Regions from separate parts of the Homo sapiens genome. Here all the other regions are linked to region 4. The links are contacts of gene promoters, found by promoter capture Hi-C in blood cells and fetal thymus (Javierre and others, 2016). All regions are on one chromosome and are shown on one strand. Each heading gives the region's core, a stretch centred on a gene start or on the middle of the fragment in contact. The rest is flanking DNA. Distances are from core to core; before and after follow the strand shown. Region 1 overlaps PRKCB (protein kinase C beta). Region 2 overlaps PRKCB (protein kinase C beta). Region 3 overlaps PRKCB (protein kinase C beta). Region 4 holds the start of CHP2 (calcineurin like EF-hand protein 2).

What was found. Contacts are between HindIII fragments. The CHiCAGO score rates a contact against its expected background, and 5 or more counts as called.
Region 1: a fragment that was not itself captured here is called in contact with the fragment with the promoter of CHP2 in region 4 in 1 of 17 cell types (total CD8 T cells); the score reaches 5.1 in total CD8 T cells.
Region 2: a contact is called between a fragment that was not itself captured here and the fragment with the promoter of CHP2 in region 4, in 1 of 17 cell types (naive B cells). The highest score is 5.3, in naive B cells.
Region 3: a fragment that was not itself captured here is called in contact with the fragment with the promoter of CHP2 in region 4 in 1 of 17 cell types (megakaryocytes); the score reaches 5.3 in megakaryocytes.

Annotation. Positions count from the first base shown.
Region 1 is chr16:24,066,345-24,072,091 of GRCh38, reverse strand. The region is part of intron 5 of PRKCB (protein kinase C beta); the gene reads right to left. Among named protein-coding and RNA genes, the nearest start is that of MIR1273H, 130 kb to the left of the region's middle. The HindIII fragment of the contact is 1,514 bases long and covers 3,741-5,254 here.
Region 2 is chr16:24,049,694-24,056,202 of GRCh38, reverse strand. All of the region lies in intron 5 of PRKCB (protein kinase C beta), which reads right to left. Among named protein-coding and RNA genes, the nearest start is that of MIR1273H, 150 kb to the left of the region's middle. RefSeq lists an enhancer at 590-1,259. The HindIII fragment of the contact is 2,349 bases long and covers 3,777-6,125 here.
Region 3 is chr16:24,023,994-24,030,102 of GRCh38, reverse strand. The region is part of intron 3 of PRKCB (protein kinase C beta); the gene reads right to left. Among named protein-coding and RNA genes, the nearest start is that of MIR1273H, 180 kb to the left of the region's middle. The HindIII fragment of the contact is 8,464 bases long and covers 1-6,109 here.
Region 4 is chr16:23,750,700-23,757,249 of GRCh38, reverse strand. It overlaps CHP2 (calcineurin like EF-hand protein 2), which reads right to left and starts at 2,224. Exons shown (of 7, transcript NM_022097.4): 1 at 2,134-2,224; 2 at 1,517-1,589; 3 at 1,323-1,403; 4 at 1,057-1,187; 5 at 801-862; 6 at 1-49. The coding sequence starts at 2,200. RefSeq lists an enhancer at 1,691-2,336. The HindIII fragment of the contact is 3,392 bases long and covers 1,340-4,731 here.

The DNA.
Region 1 (5,747 bases), core at 3,248-5,747, 310 kb before region 4:
TTTTAAGTCATGTGAATTTCACCTCAGCAAATTTTTAAAAACAAAAGGCGGGGGTGGGGTGGGGGTTAAACTCTATCCAAATTGCAATCAGCCCATAAACAAGTAGCAAACTGAATTGGGCACCCTCATGATAATAATAACATCCTTGCTGAGATCCTGGAGCAGGGCCCAGTGATGCCGACGACCCCTCCAGAATGTGTCCACTGTGATCATTAACTCCACAAAGGCTTGGGCATGGTTACTGCAACTCAACGCCCTCTTCGGCCCCCACCATAACTTTCAGCCTTTCCTGCACCATCTCCTTATATGGTGTAGGCCAGACTCCAGCTAGCCTTGGCTGCCGGCTGTTCCCTGTAAGATCCTGCCTCCATAGGAGGAGACAGATGGGATCTAGTGTCCAGGACCACATCCCACAGCTACTGCCCAGAGACATGTGCAGAGCGGACAAGCCAGGCAGGTACTCACTCTCTTTACTACCCTAGGACCTTTACCCCCAATCACAAGTAGAACCACTGGCCCTGTTGAGTTGAGCTAGACTAGCATTCTCAATTCTGGATCCACATTAAAATTGGTGGAAATTGGAAGGTTGGACGGGCTCCTCTTATTCCTTTTCCCCAGTCCTGTTTGTCTTTTTTTTTTTTTTTTTTTTTTTTTTAGACAGGGTCTCACCATGTTACCCAGGCTAGTCTCAAACTCCTGAGCTCAAGCGATCCACCCGCCTTGGCCTCTCAAAGTGCTAGGATTACAGACGTCAGCCATCGTGCCCGGCCATGTTTTGTTTTCAAGGCAATGCAGAGAAGAGGTAGCTCAGGCTCCTCTTACCATACCAGATATGCAGAGTTCTGAGAGGTCTGAAGGCAGAGTAAGTCTCAAATGGAAAGCCAAGAGAGAATGCTTAGGGTATATCATGAAGACGAGGTCATTAAGCTCCTCCCCTATCTCTGAAAGCCCCAAGAGCAGCATCCAAGTCCTTAACTCACATCCTCACATCAGCCCTGGAGTGGAGGGGGGCTTTGAGCTCCCTCTTCAGGTCACAGTGTGTACTAACTACCCTTTGTCCAGATGGTTCCCTCCCTTGCCTTTGGCCCAAAGCTCATTCATCCTTCTAGTTAGATCTATAAGGCCACCTCTTCCCAGAAGCCTTTCCTGACTTCATCTGACCCATCACAGGATTTCTTCCTTTCTTATCTTCAGTGACACAGTATACTTTAGAGAGATATGTACTTGCTTTACTTGTTCTGCTATATTAAATAGAGCTCCTTAAGGGAAGGGACTATGACTTCCTAATTTTTCTGGCCAAGGGCTTGGCCTCAGGATCAAACAGACCTGAGTTTGAGTTCAAAGTGATACCACTTCCTGGCTGCGGAGGCTTGGAGGATTACTTAACCTCTCTGAGCCTCAGTTTCCTCATCTGTAATATGAGAATAGCAACAGTGTTCCCTCATAAGATGGCTGAGAGGGCTGAGGAGCTATATACTTCATGCTATTATATGCGTTGTAATGACTGCAACCTATTTTACACTCAACAACTCCTAGTCATTATTATTATTCTGTTCTATTAGGTGCCTGGGATACTATTTTCTATATATTTCATATATACTTAATAAATGATTTTTAAATGTCATTAAATTCCCTGGTTTCAAGGCCGGGCGCAACGGCTCATGCCTGTAATTCCAGCATTTTGGGAGGCTGAGGCAGGCGAATCACTTGAGGTCAGGAGTTTGAGACCAGCCTGGCCAAGATGGCAAAAATCCGTCGCTACTGAAAATACAAAGATTAGCCAAGAGTGATGGCACATGCCTGTAATCCCAGCTACTTGGGAGACTGAGGCACAAGAATCGCTTGAACCCAGGAGGCAGAGGTTGCAGTGAGCCAAGATCGTGCCACTGCACTCCAGCCTGGACGACAGAGCAAGACCTTGTCTCAAAAAAAAAAAAAAAAAAATCCCCTGGTTTCCTGCAAGATGAAAAGCTTACCATCACAGGGCCCCAATCCCAGTGTAAGTTAACGTCCCTTCCCTGGTTGCCCAGGACACCTTGCACTCGTGTCTGGCACAGCAGTCCTAACACTTTGCTGTAATTATCCATTTATTTGTCGTATTGACAGTGGTGACGCCATAGCCCAGCACAGTGTGAGCCACACACTGAAGGAAGGAAGGAATGGCCATGAATCACGTCATCTCGGGAGTACCCGTTGGGAATGGAGAAGAATCTTAAGACCTCCAGCCCAGAGAGAATATACAGGTTTTGTGATTTGTTCTAGGCTCTGATGATGTCATGACAATAACAATGACAACTTTTATTGAGCACATACTATATGCCAGGCACTGTTTTGTTTTGTTTGTTTTGTTTTGATACAAAGTCTTGCTTTGTTACTCAGGCTGGAGTACAGTAGTGCAATCACGACTCACTGCAGCCTCAACCTTTGGGGTTCAAGTGATCCTCCCACCTCAGCCTCCCAAGTAGCTGGGACTACAGGTGTACGACCATGCCTGACTACTTCTTAAAATTTTTTGTAGAAATGGGGTCTCACTATGTTGCAGGCTGAAATCAAACTCCTGGGCTCAAGCAATCTTCCCACCATGGCCTCCCAAAGAGGTGGGATTACAGGCATGAGCCACCACGCTCAGACCCAGGCACTGTTTTAAGCACTCTATACACAGCACAGCACTGCTCGTCCCCAGTGCTCAGCCTCTTCCGGGCCAAACTTCAACGTCTCACTCTGGGAGGCAGGAATCCAGCAGCTGAAAGAAGTCAGTCTTACATGATTTAAAAACAGGCTGTTCTGAGGCCATCTGCTTCATTTGCCCCAGGACATGGGGACTGGACCAAACTGTCCTCTAACACGGCACCTCCTGCATTTCATGTACCCTTATCTGATCTAAAGCCACTTTCTATACCAAATTAGTCAAGTGTGATGGTGAGGAGCTTAAACCCAGAGATCCTGGCAGATCAGCTCTGCCATAGAGCAGCTTTGTGACCTGAAAGTTACCTAACTTCTCGGTAACTCAGTCTCCTTGTTTAAAAAATGGGGCTAATGATAAGGATGTTGGCTCATAGGAATGTTACAATCATTATAAATTAATAGAATGTCTGGCATATGGTAAACATTCACTATGTGCTACTTTGTTATTATTGGCTCTTATTTTATATCGCTGTCTCCATAGTGTTCTAGCAGAATGCTTAGCAACCTTTACTTCACTATCTTCACTCCCCAAAGTTCTCAGGGTCCCCTACCAGGATCTGAAAGAAATGAGGATTCCTCACTCTATCACTGATGCTCACAACACCCTTCTTTAAAAATAATTTTCTGAACCAAACAAATATTACCTTAGATCTTATCCCAAAATTAAATAAATGCTTTCATTTGTATATTCACCTTCTGGTCTTTTTCCATGTTAACATTCAATTTTTACATAATTATACCACTCTAAATCTATTTTGTATTTTATATTTTTATTTAATATCATACCACTTGGGGCAATGATAAAGTAGCTCTCCCACTGAGAGCAACTATAAAAGCCAGATAAAAAATATTTTTCAAGAAACTGGAATTTTGAAGGAATTAGAATTAAGATAAGTCCAATATTCTGTGTGTGGTTTTTTTTTTTTTTTCCTTTGGGCCATAAATCAATTCTCAACACAGGGCAAAGGACTAAGAAGCTAGACAGAGGGCACCTGCTAAGAAGGAGGGAGGCCACCAGAGCTTGAAGCTTATTCTTGGGGCTAGGAATCAAAGCTTCCAGGGAAGGCAGGACTTGAGGGGCCAAATCATAGTGGGAGGGGAAGAGCAGAGAAGTGAACTCAACGCTAGGCATTGATTTTTCTCTTGAGTCTCTACCAATCACACTGCAGAGGTTGAGACACAAAACAGAAATCAGCTGAGAGGTTTTGTCAGGCTTATGGTGCTAGAGAAACAAAAATTGGGGTTCAGGACCCAGTTAAAAGGAGGGCCCTGGCAAGTCTTCAGCCTCAGAGTTGGAAACCTCTACACCATAGGAGTGGAAATGAACCAGAAATAGAACAAACCTTACGAAGGCTATAAACCAGCACACAGTGAGCTCGATCACCACCAGAAGGGTGACCCCAACCTGCATGGAAAATAACCTCTTCCTCAGCTCTCTCTCTCTCTCTTTTTTTTTTTTTTTTTTGAGACGGAGTCTCGCTCTGTCACCCAGGCTCACTGTAACCTCCGCCTCCCAGGTTCAAGTGATTCTCGTGCCTCAGCCTCCCCAGTAGCTGGGATTACAGGCATGTGCCACCATGCCAGGCTAATTTTTGTATTTTTGGTAGAGATGGGGCTTCACTATGTTGGCCAGGATGATCTCAAACTCCTGATCTCAGATGATCCACCCACCTTGTCCTCCCAAAGTGCTGAGATTACAGGCATGAGCCACCACACCTGTCCAACAGCTTTCTAATTTAGCAAGGAATCATCTGAAATTCAAACAAAACTTCCAAACATGCCAAGAAATAGGACCAGAAGCAAAAAACACCTAGGCGTGGTGATGCATGCCTGTAATCTCAGCACTTTGACAGGCAAACATGGGCAGACGGCTTGAGCTCAGGAATTCAAGACCAGCCTGGACAACATAGTAAAACCCCATCTCTACAAAAATACAAACATTAGTGGGGTGTGGTGATACACATCTATAGTCCCAGCTACTCAGGAGTCTGAGGTGGGAGGATTGCTTGAGCCCAGGAGGTAGAGGCTGCAGCGAGCTATGATTGCACCACTGCACTCCAGCCTAGGTGACAGAATAAGATCCCGTCTAAAAAATTTTAAAAAAACAGACAAGAGGGCAGATCCATGGGTGATTCAGACACTGGAATTATCAAACATGAACTTTAAAATAACTTATTAAGATGTTTAAAAGAAGGGAGAAAGGATGACAATGTGGAAAGTTTCACCAGAGAACTATTGGTTACAAAAAAGAAACTGACTGGGTACAGTGGCTCACACCTGTAATCCCAACACTTTAGGAGGCTGAGGAGGGGTGATCACTTGAGGCCAGGAGTTCAAGACCAGCCTGGGGCAACACAGCGAGACCTCATCTCTACAAAAATTTTTAAAAATTAGCCAAGCTCAGTGGCATGCACCTGTGGTCCCAGCTTCTCAGGAGGCTGAGGTGGGAAGATTGCTTGAGGCCAGGAGTTCAAGGCTGCAATGAGTGATGATTGTGCCACTGCACTCCAGCTTGGGTGACAGAGCAAGACCCTTGTCTCAAAATAACTAAATAAAGCAAATGAAAGCTTTAGAATTAAACATACAATAATTCCCAAGTGGATGGACATTCTACCAGATACTTGACCAGTACTTCTCAAAACTGTCAAGGTCATGAAAAATAAGAAACGATTGAGAAATTGTCATAAACCAGAGGACACTTAGGAAACATGACAACTTAATGTAATTTGGTATCCTACATGAGATCCTGGAATACACTAAGAATATCGTGAAAAAAAAAAGGAAAATCCAAATAAAGTTTGGAGTTTAGTTAACAATACAGTACTAATTAGTGTTAACATCTTCATTTTGACGGATGTGTCATGGTCATGTAACGTGTTAATAATGGAAAACTGAGTGAAAGGTATACGGGAAGTCTATCCTCTGCAACTTTTCTGTACATCTAAAACTATTCTAAAATAAAAAGTTTATTTAAAATGCAATACTTAAAATTAATAACTCAATGCATGGCTTAGCAGCAGATTGGAAGCAGTTAGAAGGCAAATCAGTGAGCTGAAAAACAG
Region 2 (6,509 bases), core at 3,702-6,201, 300 kb before region 4:
CCCAAGGGAGAGGCTGGCAGCTTCAAAGAGGAAAAGAGAAAGAAGATGTGCACTTACTGCAAGGCTGAAAGAAAGCACACCCATCCCTGAGTTGAAATCACCATTTTAATTTCCAAATTCTCAATTCGGCAAAGTGGTTAAGGGGCTGGGTGTTAGATGCAAACAGACCTGGGACCAAACTCCAGTTCTGCCACACAGAAGCCCAGTTGACCTTGAGCAAGTCAATTAACCTCTCTGAGCCTCAGTTTCCCCTTTTGTCAATGGAGACAAAATGGGTTGATGCAGGTAAAGAGCCCAGCACTGTGTCTGGCACTTAGTAGGCTGTTGTAGTGCAGGAAATTTATATTTCGAGAGAGAGAGAGACTGAAAGGATTCTGTCAAGCAAACAGCATTGCACACCACACACCCCTACAAAACTAGAAGAAATAAGCAGAAAGATGCACTGGAACATCCTTTGGGACTGCTGGCTCTTTATGGATATGCCTACTTGTCCTTCTCCACCAACCATTCCATGATTTCAGATTGGTTCACTTTTCTTTCCCCAATTTGAAAGCCTGCTTAGGTCGGGATTTCTCCAACAACGGGCTAAGACAGTGGATTCGTCTGGAAAGAAGAAATGAAATCAAAGGAGCATTGATCCTCGATGGGGGGAACAGGCTCTCAGCTCTTATTCCAAGTCCCTGTGAAGCCACATTCTCTGAGCTGAAGCAGGCATCCAGCAAGGGCCAGAGAAGCCGACGTGAAAGCCCAAACCCAGCCATCCGTGGCTGCCGCATGCAGCTCGTCAGGGGAGGAGGAACAGACAATAGCAGTCAGTTCCAGGGCCATCTCCCTTCCTTCCCTAGTGCTTCTCAGAACCCAGCAGGCAGCTGATGAGGACTCAGCAGCGGCTGACAGCCCATCTAAAGCTCACTGTCTCTCCAGCTTCCAATCACCAGGTGTCTGAAGGGGTTTCAGAGCAGTCAGCTTCTGCCCTCATTAAGAGGCCTTTGGTGGGTGGAGAAGATGATTGTGAAAGGAACGGTCAGCTTCATTAGGCAACTCAGAGGAGGGGTACAGAAGTCCCCAGAGCTCTGGCCTCCTGGCCTGTGCCCAAGAGGGCCCCTCATTTGCATCTCATTTGCATTGCATACTGAACGGGACCCCCAGCTTACACTTGGAGAAATTGTCATGAGCTAAAGAGAGAGGCTGCCATCGGGTTTGTGGCGAATGATCCTGGGGGAGGAGGATCCACAAAGCAAGCCTACACAACAGTCTCTGCCCTCCAGGAAAACAAGACCTCAATCAGACCACAGTGATGCAGACAGATGCAGACCACACTATTCTGGGATGGATGACCAACTAAATAAAGCCATGTTTACATCATGCACAAGGCCAGACAGAGGGAAAATTCCAAATGTTTTCAAGAGACTGTTAGAACGATTCGTGCTAATTGCATGCAAGTCTTGTACTATGAATGTCAAACTGCACCAGCATCACATAAATGAGCTGTCAACGGCTTGGTCAGCGTTCCCACAGAAAAGAACCTTTTCCTCCCTCTCAGAATAGTTCTCATTTTGTTTGATTGATACACACACAGCTCCCCTTCTTGGGAAAGGGTTTTTAATTTATTGTCCAAAAGCCACAGGTTTCCCCAGTATCCCTAAAGGATTGTCTCTTCATATAAAATAGGTGCTAAGATCTCCATATTAAGACAAACCTGGGTTTAAATTCCAGCACCAGCACTTATCAGCTATATGAATCTGGCCAAGTCATTTAACCTTTCCGAGCTTCAGTTGCCTCCTCTACAGAATAGGGACAATAGTCACATCTCATAGGGAGTAAATGATATCATGCATATAAAAATGCTCTACAAAAGACAAAGTTAAGAGATATTGCCTACCATTGGGAAAGCAAGAAATGGAGTTGCAAATACATAACTTAAATAGCCAGGTTCAGTGGCTCACACCTGTAATCCCAGCACTTTGGGAGGCTGAGGCAAGAGGGTCACTTGAGGCCAGGAGTTTGAAACTAGCCTGGGCAACATAGCCAGATCCCATCTCTATTATAAAATTTTTAAAAATTTGGCTGGGCATGGTGGTGTGTGCCTGCAGTCCCAGCTACTCAGGAGGCTGAGGCAGGAGGATTGCTTGAGGCCAGGAGTTTGAGGCTGCAGTGAGCAGTGATTGTGCCTCTGTACTCCAGCCTGAGTGATACAGTGAGAACCTGTATCTAAAATAAATAAATAAAACTTAAAGGAACTATTACAACTACTAGAGTCACAATAATGGATTCCCATTGGACTAAGAGAAAAGACAAATTCCCTCCCAAGAATCACATAGCCCTCAGCAGCTGCCTCTCTGTTTCCTCCGCTTTCCTCTCCTGCTCCCTTCCCTTGACTTGCCCCACTTAGACACACGAGCCTCCTTGCTGTTTCTTCAAGCACACCGAACATGCTCATGCCACAGGGCCTTTGCACCAGCTGTTACTGTGCCTGGAATGCTCTTCTGCCAGGGAGATGCATGGCTCCCTCCTTCATCTCCTTTGAAAGTCTTTACTCAATGTCCCCATCTCAGTGACTGCCTGCTTGCCACCATATCTAAATGTGCAGGTCCAGTCCCCTCCTGCCTCCTTCCCATCCTCTTTTTCCGTTTTTTCTTTTTCCCCTTAGCTTACTGTTCGTATTTTACTTATTTACCTACTTTGTCTTCTCCCACACTACAACAGAGGTCTACAAACTACAGCCCAAGGGCCAAATCCAGCCTCCTGCCTGTTTTTGTAAATAAAGTTTTATTGGCACACACCCGTGCCCATTCATTGGCACACTGTGGCCACTTCCGTGTTACAATGGCAGAGTTAAGTAGTTGTGACAGTGACCAGATAGCTCCAAAGCCCATCTGGCCCTTCACAGAAAAAGTTTGTCAAGCCCTGCACTAAAATATAAGCTCCATGAGGGCAGGACTTTGGCTTGTTCTCTGACAAATCTCCAGTGACTAAGTCAATGCCTGACATGCAGAAGATGCTTAATAATCACTTTTTTTTGAGTGAGTGAACTACAAATGGCAGTAACCCCGTGCTGGATGTGAGGGGAAGAGAACTAGAGGGATCACATCAGAGAATTAAAACCTTCTCAGGAAGTCAGAGCCATGAAATAGTGAAATGACAGAGAGACAGAGCACATGATTAAAATTTAGAGCTCAAGTGCTGGAAGAAAGAGTTTAAAGAGTTGAAAATAGTGTCTTCCAATGCAGTGGTTCTCAGAGTGTCAGAGATGTTTGAACCAGAGTGACTCCATCTTGAATAGGGGCTGGGTAAAATAAGGCTGAGACCTACTGGGCTGCATTCTCAGGAGGTTAAGGGATTCTAAGTCACTGAATGAGACAGGACGTCAGCACAAGGTACAGGTCACAAAGACCTTGCTGATAAAACAGGTTGTGTTAAAGAAGTAGGTCAAAATCCTCCAAAACCAAGATGGCAACAAAAGTGACGTCTGGTCGTCTTTGCTGCTCATTATACAGTAATTGTAATGCATTAGCATGCTAAGAGACACTCCCAGCAGCGCCATGACAGTTTACAATCGTCATGGCAACGTCAGGAAGTTACCCTACATGGTCTAAAAAGAGGAGGAATCCTCAGTTCTGGGAATCTGCCACCCCTTTCCCAGAAAACTCATGAAAAATCCACCCCTTTTTTAGCATATAATCAGGAAATGACCTCAAAAGTGGCTAGCCAGCAGCTTTAGGGCTGCTCTGCCTGTGGAGTAGCCATGCTTTATTCCTTTACTTTCTTAGTAAGCTTGCTTTGACTTTATGGATTTGCCTCGAATTCTTTCTTGCAAAAGACCTAAGAACCTCTCTTGGGTTCTGGATCGGGATCCCTTTCTGGTAACCGGAGTGTGAACACACCAGCATTCTCTGGGGACCTGTTAGAAATTCAAATTCTCATTCTTCAATGTCTACTGAATCAGAAACTCTGAGGGTGGGGCACTCTCTAGATGATTCTGATGCAAGCTCAAGTACAGGACATTGCTTTTCATCCTCAGCTCTCCAATGCACATTGGCATTTTTAACTATGCCTATCCTATTTTGATAAAATAATTAAATAAAATAGTCTAAGGTCTATTAATTTTATGTCTTTTTTTTTTTTTTTGAGACGGAGTCTCGCTTGCTCACTGCAACCTCCACCTCCCAGGTTCAAGCGATTCTCCTGCCTCAGCCTCCTGAGTAGCTGGGATTACAGGTGCCCGCCACCATGCCCAGCTAATTTTTGTATTTTTAGTAGAGACAGGGTTTCACCATGTTGGCCAGGATGGTCTCCCTTTCCTGACCTGGTGATTCACTCGCCACCTGCCTCAGCCTCCCAAAGTGCTGGGATTACAGGCGTGAGCCACTGTGCCCGGCCTCTTTCCTTGAACTCCTGGATTCAGTGATCCTCCTTCCTCAGTCTCCTGAGTAGCTGAGATTACAGGCATGCTGCACTACCATGCCTGGGTAATTTTATTTTTAATTTTTTTTAGGGACAGGGGTCTCACTATGTTGCCCAGACTGGTCTCAAACTCCTTGCCTCAAGTGATTCTTCACCTCAGCCTCCTGAGTCTCTGGGATTACAGGCATGAGCCACTGCACCTGGCTCTATTTTCTGTATTTCTGATGCTTTGGTGTCTCGGAGCCTTGCTGACCCTGGAGAAACTGTCTGTCCCAGGGCTAGCCCATTCCTAGAGACAGTAAAGAACTCACCTGCAAGCGCACCTTTCATATGCAAACCAACCAATCCAAAGCCCAAACCTCCAACCAACTCCTTCATGGGGCTCTTACACTCTGGGCCAGCCTGTGCTAATTACCCCAGGTAAAAGCACCAGGTATCAGGTACCAGGCAACTAGAGAGACAGCCTCTACACCCAGAGTCTGCTGAGATCATTCAAACCAGCCAGCCCTAAGGCTGGTTTCCCGCCCTACCTGCTCCTTCTCACAGAAACAGCAGCAAATGCTCCTGCCACGTTTTCTTTCCGCTTCCTCTGCCTCCTGGCAGACCCTGCTGCTTCCCTGTGTGGCCTTTCATGGAGTGGCACGCCTGCTCCTCATCTATGAGTAATAAACTATCTTTTCAAAAGTAAGGAGGGCAGAACAAGTAGCACAGAGAATGGTGTGAGGAAGGTGATGTCCGGAAGACACTCGGCACAAGAACAGGAAGACCCAAAAGCTCTCAGCCTGGCCGTGGAGCAAAAGGCCAAACCCTACAAGATGAAATGCATCAGGTTTCATCCTGGAGTCTCAAAAAAAAAAAAAATCTTGCACAAGGATGTGGGGCCTGCAGGCTAGCAGCACCCGATGTGATAGACAAGAGAGCTTTAACTGATCATAAACCCAAGATAAGTCAACAGTGCAATGTGGCTGGTGGTACCCCCAGACCCCCCAAAAGAGTAGTATCATCTCAGGATGCAGAAAGAGAATTTTGTTGTCTAGGACAGTGTTTTTCAAGCGGCGGGTCATGACACATTTGCCAATTGTTAGTGAAATCAATTTGCAGAGTAAGAGCATTTTCCTTAAAGGGTTTCTTAAAGGAAATAGAATGGAAATGAACAGAAAAGAGGGCCACAAAAGAGAGGAGAATGTATCAGAGTGTGTGGTGAGCATAAGTAGAGGTAAGCATTAATGGCAGTTTGGTTTTGGTTGTGAGTGTGTGCTTGTTTGTGCAATGTGTGTGTGTTTGTGAGTTTGTGCTTGTTTGTGCAGTGTGTGTGTGTGTGTGTGTGTGTGTTACATAAAACCTAGATGGGCTGGAAGCCGAAAGGTTTGAAAACAGCTGATCTAGAATAAGGAAAGTGACAATCCTTCGCTCCTCGGCAACACAGGTGGATTCTCTTTCACTCTGGGCACCCTGCTTTATAAGGAAGCTACTCCAACTGGAGTGTTGTCTAGGAAGAGTTCCGGGTTGACATCAATGATGGCATACTCGGCCCTATCATGTGTTTGAGGTTGTGGGCTGTGGATTAAGGATTAGAAAGTAAATGGCTGAAGGAGTTGGGGCTGCCTCACTTGGGAATTAAAAGATTCTGGGACACCTATGAACCATCTTTGAATTAGTGGAAGGCTGTCAACATACCTGTACTGAGTTACCCAAGGGTGAAACCAGTGCCTGTAAAAGCTTCATGAAATTCATCAATATCTATGTCAGCAGCTCAACGTGCTTGGCTTCTTGGATCCCCTACCAACTCCTACTTGTCCACCTGCACCACTGCTCTTCCTCTGATTCTCAATTCACCCCTCCAGATCTTCCCGTCTCCAGCATCTCCAAGCTTGTATAAGGTCTAACGTGTACAGTAAATCCCTTATTCCATGATGCTTATAGTGACTCTGATTCCCTGAGCGATACACAGGCGTGGGCTAAGCACCCACAATGCTAAGGTGGGAAGTTGATTCTGCTTCCTCCCATGTACACAAACCACTTTGTTTCTGGAGTTTTCCAGTGTAACCTGAACACTCTGTGAGCATCTTTGCATTTTTAAGTGAGAACACTTTCTTAGGATACTG
Region 3 (6,109 bases), core at 2,635-5,134, 270 kb before region 4:
AACATAGTGAGACCCCATGTCTACAACAATAAAAAATTAGCCAGGTGTGGTGGCATATGCCTGTAGTCCCAGCTACTTGGGAAGTTGAAGTGGGAAGATCACTTGAGCCCAAGAATTCAAGGCTATGTGTGAGCTATGATTGCATCACTGCACTCCAGCCTGGGCAAGAGAGCAAGACCCTCTCTCTCTTAAAAAAAGGAAAAAAAAGTACATGGCAGAAGTTAATAACATGGGCCTTAGGTTCCAATCCAGGGCTGATCTGACACCCTAGCCTTTGGTACATGCTACCAGTTTCTTCCTTCCTTCATTCATCCATTCACATGTATTTATTGATGCTGCCACAGATGCCTCCTTTAAAATTGTACTCTAGTGACAGAAAATGAACATGTAAGCAAATAAACAGACATACTACATAGATATTCTTTTATGTGCTGTTAATGTGATGAGTGCTTCTCCTAAGGAAACTGTTCTTTTCAAAACTTTAAAATAATTCCATACTGTATTAGTCTGCTTTCATACTGCTATAAAGAACTGCCTGAGATTGGGTAATTTACAAAGGAAAGAGATTTAATTGACTAACAGTCAATTTTCTTGAGGACGAGGAGGCCTCAAGAAACTTAAAATCGTAGTGGAAGGCGAAGGGAAAGCAAGGCACCTTCTTCACAAAGCAGCAGGAAGGAGAAGTGCCGAGCAAAGGGGGACATGCCCCTTATAAAACCATCAGATCGTGTGAGAACTCACTCGCTATCATGAGAACAGCATGGGGGAAACTGCCCCAAGATTCAATTGCCTCCACCTGGTCTCTCCCTTGACATGTGTGGATTATGAGGATTACAATTCAAGATGAGATTTAGGTGGGGACACAAAGCCTAACCATATCACATACCTACCAGAGTTGCTAAAATGTTTGAAAACTAAAACCAACGATACCAAGTGTTAGTGAAGAAAGAACATAAACTGGAACTCTCCTAGGACCCAGGAATCCTACTTTTCGGTGAAATGAAAACATCCAGGCCGGGCACAGTGGCTCACGCCTGTAATTCCAGCACTTTGGGAGGCCGAGGCGGGCAGATCGCTTGAGGTCAGGAGTTCGAGACCAGCCTGGCCAACATGGAGGAACCCTGTCTCTATTAAAAATACAAAAATTAGCAGGGTGTGGTGGCACATGCCTGTAGTCCCAGCTACTTGGGAGGGTGAGGCACGAGAATCACTTGAACCCAGGAGGCGGAGGTTGCAGTGAGCCGAGATCGTGCTACTGCACTCCAGCCTGGGTGACAGAGAAGGGGAAAAAAAAAAAACAACAACCATATCCATACATGAAGGTTTATAGCTACCTTACTTATAATAGCCCCAAACTGGAAAGGACCCAAATGTCGTTCGACGTGTGAATGGATACAGTGTGAGGCATCCACACAGTGGAATACTTTTCAGCAGTAAAAAGGAATGAACTATTGACACATGCAGCAGCATTCATGAACCTCGAAAGGATTCTGGTAAAACAAAGATGTTCAACACAAGTGTAGGTTCATTTCTAAATGTTCTGAAAAACACAAAACTATGGGGACAGAAAACATCAGTGGTTAAAAGGGGTTGGAGGTGGATAGGGAATTAACTAAAAAGAGGCAGATGCAGCAACTTTTTTGTTTTGGATATTGGAGTGGTCTATATATTAACTGTGATGAATTTTACTTTATATTTTTAAAAGTGAATTTGTGGCCTGGAGCAGTGGCTCATGCCTGTAATCCCAGCACTTCGGGAAGCCGAGGTGGGTGGATCACCTTAGGTCAGGAGTTCAAGACCAGCCTGACCGATATGGTGAAACCCTGTCTCTATTTAAAATACAAAAATTAGCTGGGCATAGTGGCATGCACCTGTAGTCCCAGCTACTTGGGAGGCTGAGACAGAAGAATTGCTTGAACCCAAGAGGCAGAGGTTGCAGTGAGCTGAAATCATGCCACTGCACTCCAGCCTGGGCGACAGAGCAAGACTCCATCTCAAAAAAAAGAAAAAAGAAAAAAAGTGAATTTTGCTGGGCACAGTAGCTCATGCCTTCAATCCCAACACTTTAGGAGGCCAAGGCGGGAGGACTGCTTGAGCTTGAACCCAGGAGTTTGAGATCAGCCTAGGCAACACAGTGAGACCCTGTCTCTACTATATATATGTATTAAAGCCAGACATAGTGGTGCATGCCTGTAGTTCTAGCTACTAGGGAGGCCAAGGTGGGAGGATCACTTGAACCCAAGAGTTCAAGGCTGCAGTGAGCTATGATCACGCCACTGGACTCCAGCATGGGTGGGAGAGCAAGACCCTGTCTCAAAAAAAATTGTTTAAAGTGACTTTTACCACAGGAAACGTATGTCTCAATAAACCTGACTGAAAATCCTCAGCCACTGCAGACTTCGGTTGCTTCTTATCTTGTTAATGAGCTACAAAGTTTCTTTCACAACGTTCCCACCCTCTGCAGTCAGGCAGATGAAGTACTCGTCCAGAGCACTGGACAGCCAAGTTTGAGAAGCGAGGTCTTTTCTGCTGTCGCCAGTGGGACCCTGAGTGCTCTCAGCTACAAAAGGACCCCAGCAATCATCTGTCCTGCTCAAAGATTGAGGTGCCGTCCTAGTAACAACAACAGGGCTTGGAAATCCACCCCCCAAAAAACTAAGGGATCCCTTTTGGCAGCTTAACCAGCCATGTCTCTATCTCCGGACAATGAGACTAAGTGAATACATAAGGTTCCTATCAGAGTCCCCCTGCTCTGTGCCACAGAACAGTTCCCATTGTGCTTCTTGGACATTCACCTTAAAGTTGGGAGTTCAGTGCTTCAAACCCACCTAAAAAGGAACACCTGTTCGAAAATCAAACACCGCATGTTCTCACTCATAAGTGGGAGTTGAACGATGAGAACACATCGACACAGGGAGGGGAACATAATACACCTGGACCTGTCGGGGGGTGGGGGACTAGGGGAGGCATTAGGAGAAATACCTAATGTAGATGACAAGTTGATGGGTCCAGCAAACCACCATGGCAGGTGTATACCTATGAAACAAAACTGCACATTCTGCACGTGTACCCCAGAACTTAAAGTATAATAATAATAAAAAAGGAACCCCTGTTCATGACTGGTATTGGCCTGTAGGAGAAGCTCCAGGTTCTCTTACACCCCTACTTAACCTCTAAGGAGGCAGAGTTGATTTAATTGGATGGATTCCAAGACACGGATTGGCCAGACCCCAGTGGTGGAGCTCGCATGGAGGTTAAAAGGCATCCTTGCCATCTTTCTCTTCTCCTTCTCCCTTACATCCTTCACTTCTCCCAGGACGCTACTGGGTCCAAGTCTTATAGTATTGCCCTGAGACCCTTGGTAGAAGTGGCCTGAGCCAGCTCCTCTCCAAGACCTAGGACACATTCTGTCTCTACTCTTGGCTCTTGTGGTCCCTTCTGGTTTCTCTGATATATTGATCTTACAGAGGCCAAGAGTTAGGTTTGAGTTCAGGTTTGAATTTCCTTAGTCCTGCCTAGTAGAGAAGAAAGGAGTTCCTCAAGGCCTTGTGAGCTCTACTTTAAGATCTGGGGCAAAATCACAACTAATAATAAGTTGCCTCTGTTGGTTTTGCACTTTTCTTCATGTAAATATTTTCTTGAGCGATCTCCAAGACAAGGATTCAAGCATTTCTGACCAAAAATGATCCAGACCTTTCTCCATATCAACAGTCTCTTAAACAAGAGGAGATACCAAGAAGCACAAAGAATGGGAAGGGAAAAGGAAACACATTTCTGTGTTTGTGTGTGTTTTGTTTTTTGTCTTGTTGAGACAGGGTCTTGCTCTGTCATGCAGGCTGGAGTGCAGTGGTGCGATCATAGCTCACCGCAGCCTCTGCCTCCCAGGTTCAAGCGACCCTTCCACCTCAGCCTCCTGAGCAGCTGGGACTGAAGGCACATGCCATATGCCTGGCTAATTTTTATTTTTTGTAGAGACAGGGTTTTTGCTATGTTGCCCAGGCTGGTCTCAAACTCCTGGGCTCAAGTGATCTGCCTGCCTCAGCCTTGCAAAGTACTAGGATTACAGGTGTGAACCACCACACCCAGTCTCAACACACTGCTTGAGAGCTACATGTGTACGCTGGGTGTCTCACATGTACTCTCTCCAATCCTTATGACATGCCATGCAGAAGGTATCATTTGTTCCCATTTTAGCAACAATGAAACAGATCCTAACTACAGAGTAACTTCACCAAGGCCACCCAGCTGGACCCTTGCAGAGATGGGGTTCACACCAAGTTCCCCTCCCTTCTCTCCTCACTCCCAACTTTACTCCATTGACACCTCATCTTCATGTGCGGCTAAGATAGAACTTGACTCATTCGTTCATTCACCTAGCAAATGTATACTGAGGGTCAAGTTCTTCCTAGGCATTGGGGATACAGCTGTGAACAAAAGAGCTTCTGCTTTCATGGAACTTATATTCTAAATCCTCTCCATCACGGCACTTAAACCACTGACTTATAAATGCACGCTTAATTGCATCTCTTCCACACTTCACTGCATGCAATGTGAGGAAATTTTGCTCATCATTATACTCTCAGGGCATAAACTGTACTTGGCATACAGAAGATGCTCAATAAATACTTAATAAGTGAGAGTTAACATTTATGGAACATTTATTCATGCCAGGGACTATTTTAAGGGATTCATCAGGCATTAATGCATTCGATCCTCATAACAGCCCTATAAAGTACATACTACTTACTACCCCTGTTTTACAGATGAGGAAACCGAAGAACTAAGAGACGAAGTGTTTTGCCCGTGGCAAGCACAGCATTGCACACAGTGGTCAATGGGTTGTTGTGACAGCTGTAGGGCTGCAATCATCGCTGTTGGCCACTGCAAACCCCTGCACCATAAACATGCTATTTTAGGAAAATGACTTAGAAGGGGCTGTGCAGCACAGATTAGAGCCAGATGAGAGACAGGAAAACCAATCGGCAAGTTGCAGGGAAACATTGACTTCTTACGGCTTATTTAGAGGCTGCTGGAGAGCTCCTCTGACCTCATTCCCCTCCCTCCGCTTTCATGAGGGATCATACTTGTAGGCACCAACTCTACCCACCCACTGCCCCAATCCTTCAGACCAGACAAACCAGGTCATCCTCAGTGGATTCTTCCCTCCTCCTTCCTGCTACCTGAAAGAGCTTAAAGCCACACTCCTACACCTGTGGTCCTCATGACTCCCTCCACGACCCTCAAGGTGCATCTTTCAGGGTACCTTTCCATGCCTGCCTGAGCCCAATGCCATCTCTGAGATGGGCACCTCCCAAAAGCCATGCTTGTACTTTGAGACATCCACATTCCCTGAACACAGCTGACTGGGGCAGAGGTGGACACTTGGCTCAAGGGTCACATATGCTGAGTGGCTGGGACACAGGTAATCAGTCCTGAGGCCAGCAGACATACAGTTCCAGGGCTGAGGCTGCTAATTTTATATTTGATTGACAAATTATAATTGTATGCATTTATGGGGTACAATGTGATTGTTCTGATTGTTCTGAATATACACACACAATGTGGCATGATTAAATCAAGAAAATTAACATATCCATCACCTAACTTGCCTATCATTTTCTTAGCTTGAGATATTTGAAATTTACTCTCTTAATTACTTTGAAACATACATATTATTGACTAATGTCACCCTGCTGTGCAATAGATCTCAAAGGCAATTCCTCCTATCCGAAACATTGTACTCTTTGCTCAGCAACTCTCCATTTCTTCCCTACTCCTGCCTCCTGCTGTCCCCCAGCTTCTGGTAACCATCATTCTACTCTCTACTTCTGTGAGTTCAACTTCATTAGATTCCACATCTAAGTGAGATCATGCAGTATTTGTCTTTCTGTGCCTGGCTTATTTCACTTAGCATAATGTCCTCCAGGTTCATCCACATTGTAGCAAATGACAGTTGGTGCTGATTTTTATGGTGCGCTCTGAGGAACCTGGAGAAACAAAGACAAAGACTACATGACCCCAGGGATGAAGCTCCTGGTTCTGGTCCCTGGGGTTCTGGCATCCTGCCTTCCAATTCCATCTGCCTCCCTGTGTCCTCTAAAATTTGTCC
Region 4 (6,550 bases), core at 975-3,474:
TCTCCAGCTGCTCTTCTGTCACCTGTACCCCAACCATCAGACGGAGAACCTGAGAGATGAGTGAAGAGGCAGCCATAAGGAGGGGGCACGAAGGCTGCAACTCCCCATCTCCTAAACCTTGCCCACCTCATCCCAAAAGTTATTGCTAATTTTATAATCCATCCTTCATCCATTTTTCACCATATCCCCCAATAATTTTCCCTACTGCTTCAACAACCAATCTCCTATCTCTCCCTCACCATCCTGCACTACCCTCAAAATATGCTCAAACTCATTACCCAACTTTATCACCCAACCTCCATCCATCCTCCACACCATTCTCCACCTTAGCCACTAAGGGTTTCTAATTCCATCCTCATTCCATCACATCTGTTCCAGAGTTTCTCAATCTTGGCACTGTTGACATTTGGAGCCAGGTAACTCCTTGTTGGAAGAGGCTCTCCTGGGTATTGCATGATATATAGCCACATTCCTGACCTCTACCCACTAGATGCCAGTAGCACACTCTCTCCCCCATTGTGACAACAAAAAGCATCTCCAGATATTGCCAGATATTCACTCAGGGAGCAAAATCACCCCCAGTTGAGAATCACTGATCTATTCCCAACCTCATAGTCAACTGCTCCCCACTCCGACTCCCAACAAACCCACACTCTAACTGCACCCATTCCCATTTCCCAACCAATACCCCAATTATCTGCGCCCCAGTTCCCCAATCATCCCACCCCATCTCTCACACCATTGCATTTAACCATCCCATCCTTCACACATCACATCTCTTGCTCTCGCTTTCTGCCAACCTGCAGCATCTCATGCCTGGAGATCTTCCCATCGCGATCCAGGTCATAGAGCTGAAATGCATCTGGGGAGAGGGTGGGAGGGGGAAAGGAAGGTAGGTCTTCCCTGGCTCTCTTCCAGCAGCCACCTTCCTTCCCCCCACCTTGGAGGAGGGGGGAGGTTGTCAATGCCCTCAGGAAGGGAGTGGGAGATCCCTGGAGCCTGTCCCTGGTGTGGGTACATCTGCATTCTCACTTGTGCAGGTCCTCACAAACTCACAGTGAAGTTTGTTCCTTCTGCTGTTGAGAGGTTCAGGTTTCTTGGGGTCTTGGGTTTCTGTGTCCTCATCTTCTACAGGGCGAAAATGAGCCAAGACCCTGACAAAGCCTGGGAAATCCACTCGCTGGCTCCTGGGGAGACGGGACAGAATGGAAAGAGGTGGTGGTCACCTTGGCCATCACTTTGCCTCCGTCTCTAACCTCCCCTCCCACCCACTCACACACCGGTTTTCCCGCCTTCACCTCCCCACGCCCAGCAAGCCTCACCCATCGGGGAAGAAGCTTTCTATAATTCGGTCTCCCAGGGGGTTCACGGCGAGCGCCCCTATCTGCTGGAGATCCATGCGGCTGCAAAGCCAAATTTCAAAGAGGGTAAGGCAGAGATGCCAGACGGAGGGTCAAAGAGGGACATGGAGTCAGAGAGACAGAGGCCAGAAGTTATGAGGCCGGCTCCCCCTCACCTCAGGTAGCCCTTCTTATTCCTGTCCAGTGCCCGGAACCGGTGGTGCAGGCGGAGCAGGCTGGCTTGGGAGACTGCGGGAAGGAGAGTGGGGTGGGGGTGTGTGACTCTGCAGGGCCAGCTCCAGAAACCCGCCCCAACAGGCCAGGAAGATGGGCCAGAACAGCGGGGGCTGGCTGGAAGGGGCGATCATCCCGGGGAATCAGGGGTTGAGCTGGCCGGGGCGGAGGGAGAGTGACACGACCCCGCGAAGATCCAGGTTCAAGACCCGGGCGGCTCGCAACCTCCCGAAAACCAAAGAACCAAAGCCATCCCTTCCAACCGCCGTCAGCTCTGCCTTCAGCTTCGAGCCGGGCTGGAGGACACCTGGGTGCCTGGATTCCTCTGGACTCCGACCCCGTGAACCCGGATCCTCCCCAGACTTGGAGGCTGGGACCCCTAGGTTAACCCGCCCCTAACCCAGCGATCCCAGGCACAGGGGCCTTGGTCTTCCAGCTCCGGGGAGCCCCGGACCCCAGACTTGTAAGTTCGTCCATCCTTCAACCCAACCCCTTCCCTAGCCCCAGACGCCTGGGTTCGCCCCGTCCCCTCCGCAGCCGCCGACGCGGGCGCACTCACAGCCGGTCTCTCGCCGAATACTGTCCCCGTCGGGAATGACCGCGGCGTGGGAGCTGCGCGACCCCATGGCCGAGCTGGAGGCGGAAGGGCCGGAGCAGCCACCCGGACCCACGCGTTCTCTCCTCCCGCCGGAGAGGCGTGGCCGCCCCAGTGGCCCCAGGGGGACGAAGGCCACAAGCCTGGCGCGCGGCCAAGCTCCAGAACCCCGGCGTGCCTCTCCTCCCACCCGCGACCCGGGCGAATGGAAAACAATGTGCAGGGTGGCGGGTCAGAGGGAGGCTGCGAACAACGGGCTGTTTCAGCTCCGAGATTTTGCGATCCGCACGGGAGAGGCTGGTCGAGTCCCAGGCCCCGCGTTTCCACGCCTCCCCCGGGGCCGGTTCCCACGGTGCGCCCTGACACCTGAGCCACCTCCTCCTTCGCGGGCCCCGGGCGCTCCCAACCCCAGGGCGCTCCCCGGCGTCGACGCTGAGGAAGCCTGGGAGACCTGACCTCCTCTGTAGAGACCACGCCCTGCTGGAAGGCGGGTGGCCTATGGGGAGGGAATCCTGGGGGGAGGGGGGAAGAGGCATCGAAGAACTCCCAAAGACGGGGAAGTGGGGAGGGGCGGCGAGATGAAGGGTGTGCGTTAGGTTAAGTGGAAAGAGCACTGGTTTGGGAGTCCTTGTTGGAATCCCAGCCGTGCCCGTGACTCTGGGAAAGTCAGTAAATCTTGGTTTCATCCCTTTTGTTCGGTTCACATTGCCTTATTGTTGTTTAATTGAGCCAATGCTTAAAATTCAGGAGATTTAACCCAAAATCCACATTCTTGGCTTTTCCTGAGAAATCAGAAGTTCTATCACCACCAGGCCCAGAGCTGTCTTCTGGCCACAGTCCCTCCAAGCCCAATTCACTCCCTTAGGTACCTACTGATCCCGTAGAGCTCCAGACTGGGAATGACTTAGTCCTCTGAACAGCCCTCCAGAGCCATGGGACTCCTTGGCCCAAGAGAGGGTTACAGACATCACTGGGACTAGGCTTAAAGCAAGAATGACAACAAGGGCTCTTGTTTACCACGCTTTGCTAAGCACTTTACGTGCATCCGTTCACACATTCCTTGTAGGCCCTGCTGGGCTGCTTTCTTCTAATTTTACGTGGTGGAGGCTGCCGGGGGCAAGTTGTGAACTAATTATGTAAAGCGTGCATTCTCAGTGCGGTCTCTATCTCACCCCAACGGGGCAAAAAATAAAACATATTTTTTATGTACAAAGCACAGCATACATACAGCACATAAATAGATATACAGTATAGCTGTGATATTGAAATTTCAGGGCAGACGTGGAGGCTCATGCCTGTAATCCCAGCACTTTGGGAGGTAGAGGCAGGAGGATTGCTTGAGCCCAGGAGCTCAAGACCAGCCTAGGCAACATAGTGAGACCCCATCTCTACAAAAGAATACAAAAAAAAAAAATTAACCAGGTGTCGTGGCACATGCCTGTAGTCTCAGCTACTTGGGAGTCTGAGACAGGAGGATCACTTGAGCCCAGGAGGTTGAGGCTGCAGGGAGCCATGATCACGCCATTACACTCCAGCCTGGGTGACAGAGTGAGACCCTGTCTTGAAAAGAAAAGAGGCCGGGCGCGGTGGCTTATGCCTGTAATCCCAGCACTTTGGGAGGTCGAGACGGGCGGATCACCTGAGGTCAGGAGTTTGAGACCAGACTGACCAACATGGAGAAACCCAGTCTCTACTAAAAATACAAAATTAGCTGGGCGTGGTGGTGCATGCCTGTAATTCCAGCTACTCGGGAGGCTGAGGCAGGAGAATCGCTTGAACCCGGGAGGTGGAGATTGAGGTGAGCCTAGATCGCGCCATTGCACACCATCTTGGGCAAAAAGATCGAAACTTGGTCTCAAAAAAAAAAAAAGAAAGAAAATAAAATTTCATGGGGTAGGGGTGAGGGTGGGGAAATTAAAAAGACTAGGGGAGGCGTTGATAATGAAAAAAAAACAGGTCGAGAAACTCATTTGTCAAGGGACAAACACTAGAAGTGTCCACTTTTGAAAGTATCTTTAAACCGTTTCCCCCATCATAATTGCACATACATACACAAATTTCCCAGGGGGGAAAACATGCAAGCAGTTCATTGCAAGGGCTCAAGTTCATATCCACCCTGGAGAGAGAGAAGCTGAAGAAACAGTCTATCCTCCAGCCCCAGGCAGAGGCCTGCATCAGATAAGTCTTGAAAATATTGATCTAAGAAGTGCTTGCTTCTTTCAGATACCCCCAAGGATTAAGCAACTGGCATAAGGAATGCTTGATTCTCTTTCAGACTCCCCCCAAAGACTAAGCATGCGGGAAACCACACTCCTCCCTAATGAAGCCCAGCAATCACTGCAACCCACAGCTGTGAGTCAGGCTGTGCATGTAGTTTGGGTTCAGTTCTGAACCCAGGAGGAGATGAGAGCCCTAAGAAGCTGTGATAAGCACCGCAGGCCAGCTTGGGATGCTGATCTTGGAAAGGGCTTCTCCAGCCTTAATATTGGAGTCAGTGCTACACCAAAGTAAATTAGGCCGGAGAGTAATTAGGAACTCCCATGCACACATCATACACAAGCTTTTAAGAGAGGGCTGGACCAGGCACAGTGGCTCACACCTATAATGCCAGCCCTTTGGGAGACTGAGGCGGGCAGACCATGAGGTCAGGAGATTGAGACTATCCTGGCTAACACAGTGAAACCCCGTCTCTACTAAAAATACAAAAAATTAGCTGGGTGTGGTGGCAGGCGCCTGTAATCCCAACTATTTGGGAGGCTGAGGCAGGAGAATCACTTGAACCTGGGAGGCAGGTGTGGCAGTGAGCCAAGATCACACCACTGCACTCCAGCCTGGGTAACAGAGCAAGACTCCATCTCAAAAAGAAAAAAAAAGAAAGAGAGAGAGAGCAGGCTATGCTAGAACTCATTTCTGTTTCATGTACACAAGTGAGACTTAAATCAACTTCACAGTTTTTTCAGGTCATTTAAGCGGGAAGATGCTTTGGGGAAAATTTTATCTGCAGAATCTGTTAGACTAGAGTCAGGAGGAATATTTGGTTTTTGCTTTTCAGCTATGTAAAAGTTGCTAGTCATTCTTTTTTTTTTTTTCTTATTTAATTTTTTGAGACAGAGTCTTACTCTGTTGCCCAGGCTGGAGTGCAGTGGCGCCATCTCAGATCACTGCAACCTCTGCCTCCTGGGCTTAAGCAATTCTCCTGCCTCAGCCTCCCTAGTAGCTGGGATTACAGGCATGCACCACCACACCTGGCTAATTTTTGTATTTTTAGTAGAGATGGGGTTTCACCATGTTGGCCAGGCTGGTCTCGAACTCCTGACCTCAAGTGATCTGCCCACTTCGGCCTCCCAAAGTGATGGGATTACAGGCATGAGCCACCACGCCTGGCCGCTAGTCATTCTTGGTGAAGGTTCAACTAGAAGAATGAACATCCAGGAATAGTCAGGAAAATACAGAACAATTAGCACTCAATAATAAAAAGATAAATGACCCAACTTTTTAAACGGGCAAAGGACTTGAATAGACATTTCTCCAAAAAAACATATATGTTTAGCCAATAAGTACATGAAAAGATTCCCCACATCATTCGTCATCAGGGAAATACAAACCAACCACAATGAGATATCACTTCATACCCACTAAGATGGCTGGAATTAAAACAAACAAAAACAAGTCTTAGTGAGGCTATGAAAAAGTTGGAAGCCTCATTCATTGCTGATGGAAAAGTAAAATGGTTCAGTTACTGTGGAAAACAGTTTGAAAGTTTCTCAATACACTAAACAAAATTACCATGTGACCCAGCAATTCTGCTCCTAGGTATACACCCAAAAGAATTGAAAATAGGGGCTCAGGCCAGGCACAGTGGCTCACACCTGTAATCCCAGCCCTCTGGGAGGTAGAGGTGGGCAGATCACTTGAGGTCAGGAGTTCAAGACCAGCCTGGCCAACATAATGAAACCCCATCTCTACTAAAAATACAAAAAAATTAGCCAAGCATGGTGGCACGCATCTGTAATCCCAGCTACTTGGGAGGTTGAAGCAGGAGAACCACTTGAACCTGGGAGGCAGAGGTTGCAGTGAGCCGAGATTGCACCACTGCACTCCAACCTGGGCAACAGAACGAGACTCCGGCTCAAAAAAAAAAAAGAAAGAAAGAAAGAAAGAAAGAAAGAAAGAAAGAAAGAAAGAAAGAAAGAAAGAAAGAAAGAAAGAAAATAGGAGCTCAAACAAAAACCTGTAGTGAATATTCATAGCGACACTATTCATAACAGCCAAAAATTGGAAATAAGCCAAATGTTTGACTGATGAATGGATAAGTAAAACATGGTATATTGATACAACGGAATATCATTTGGCCATAAAAAGTAATGAAGTATTATATATG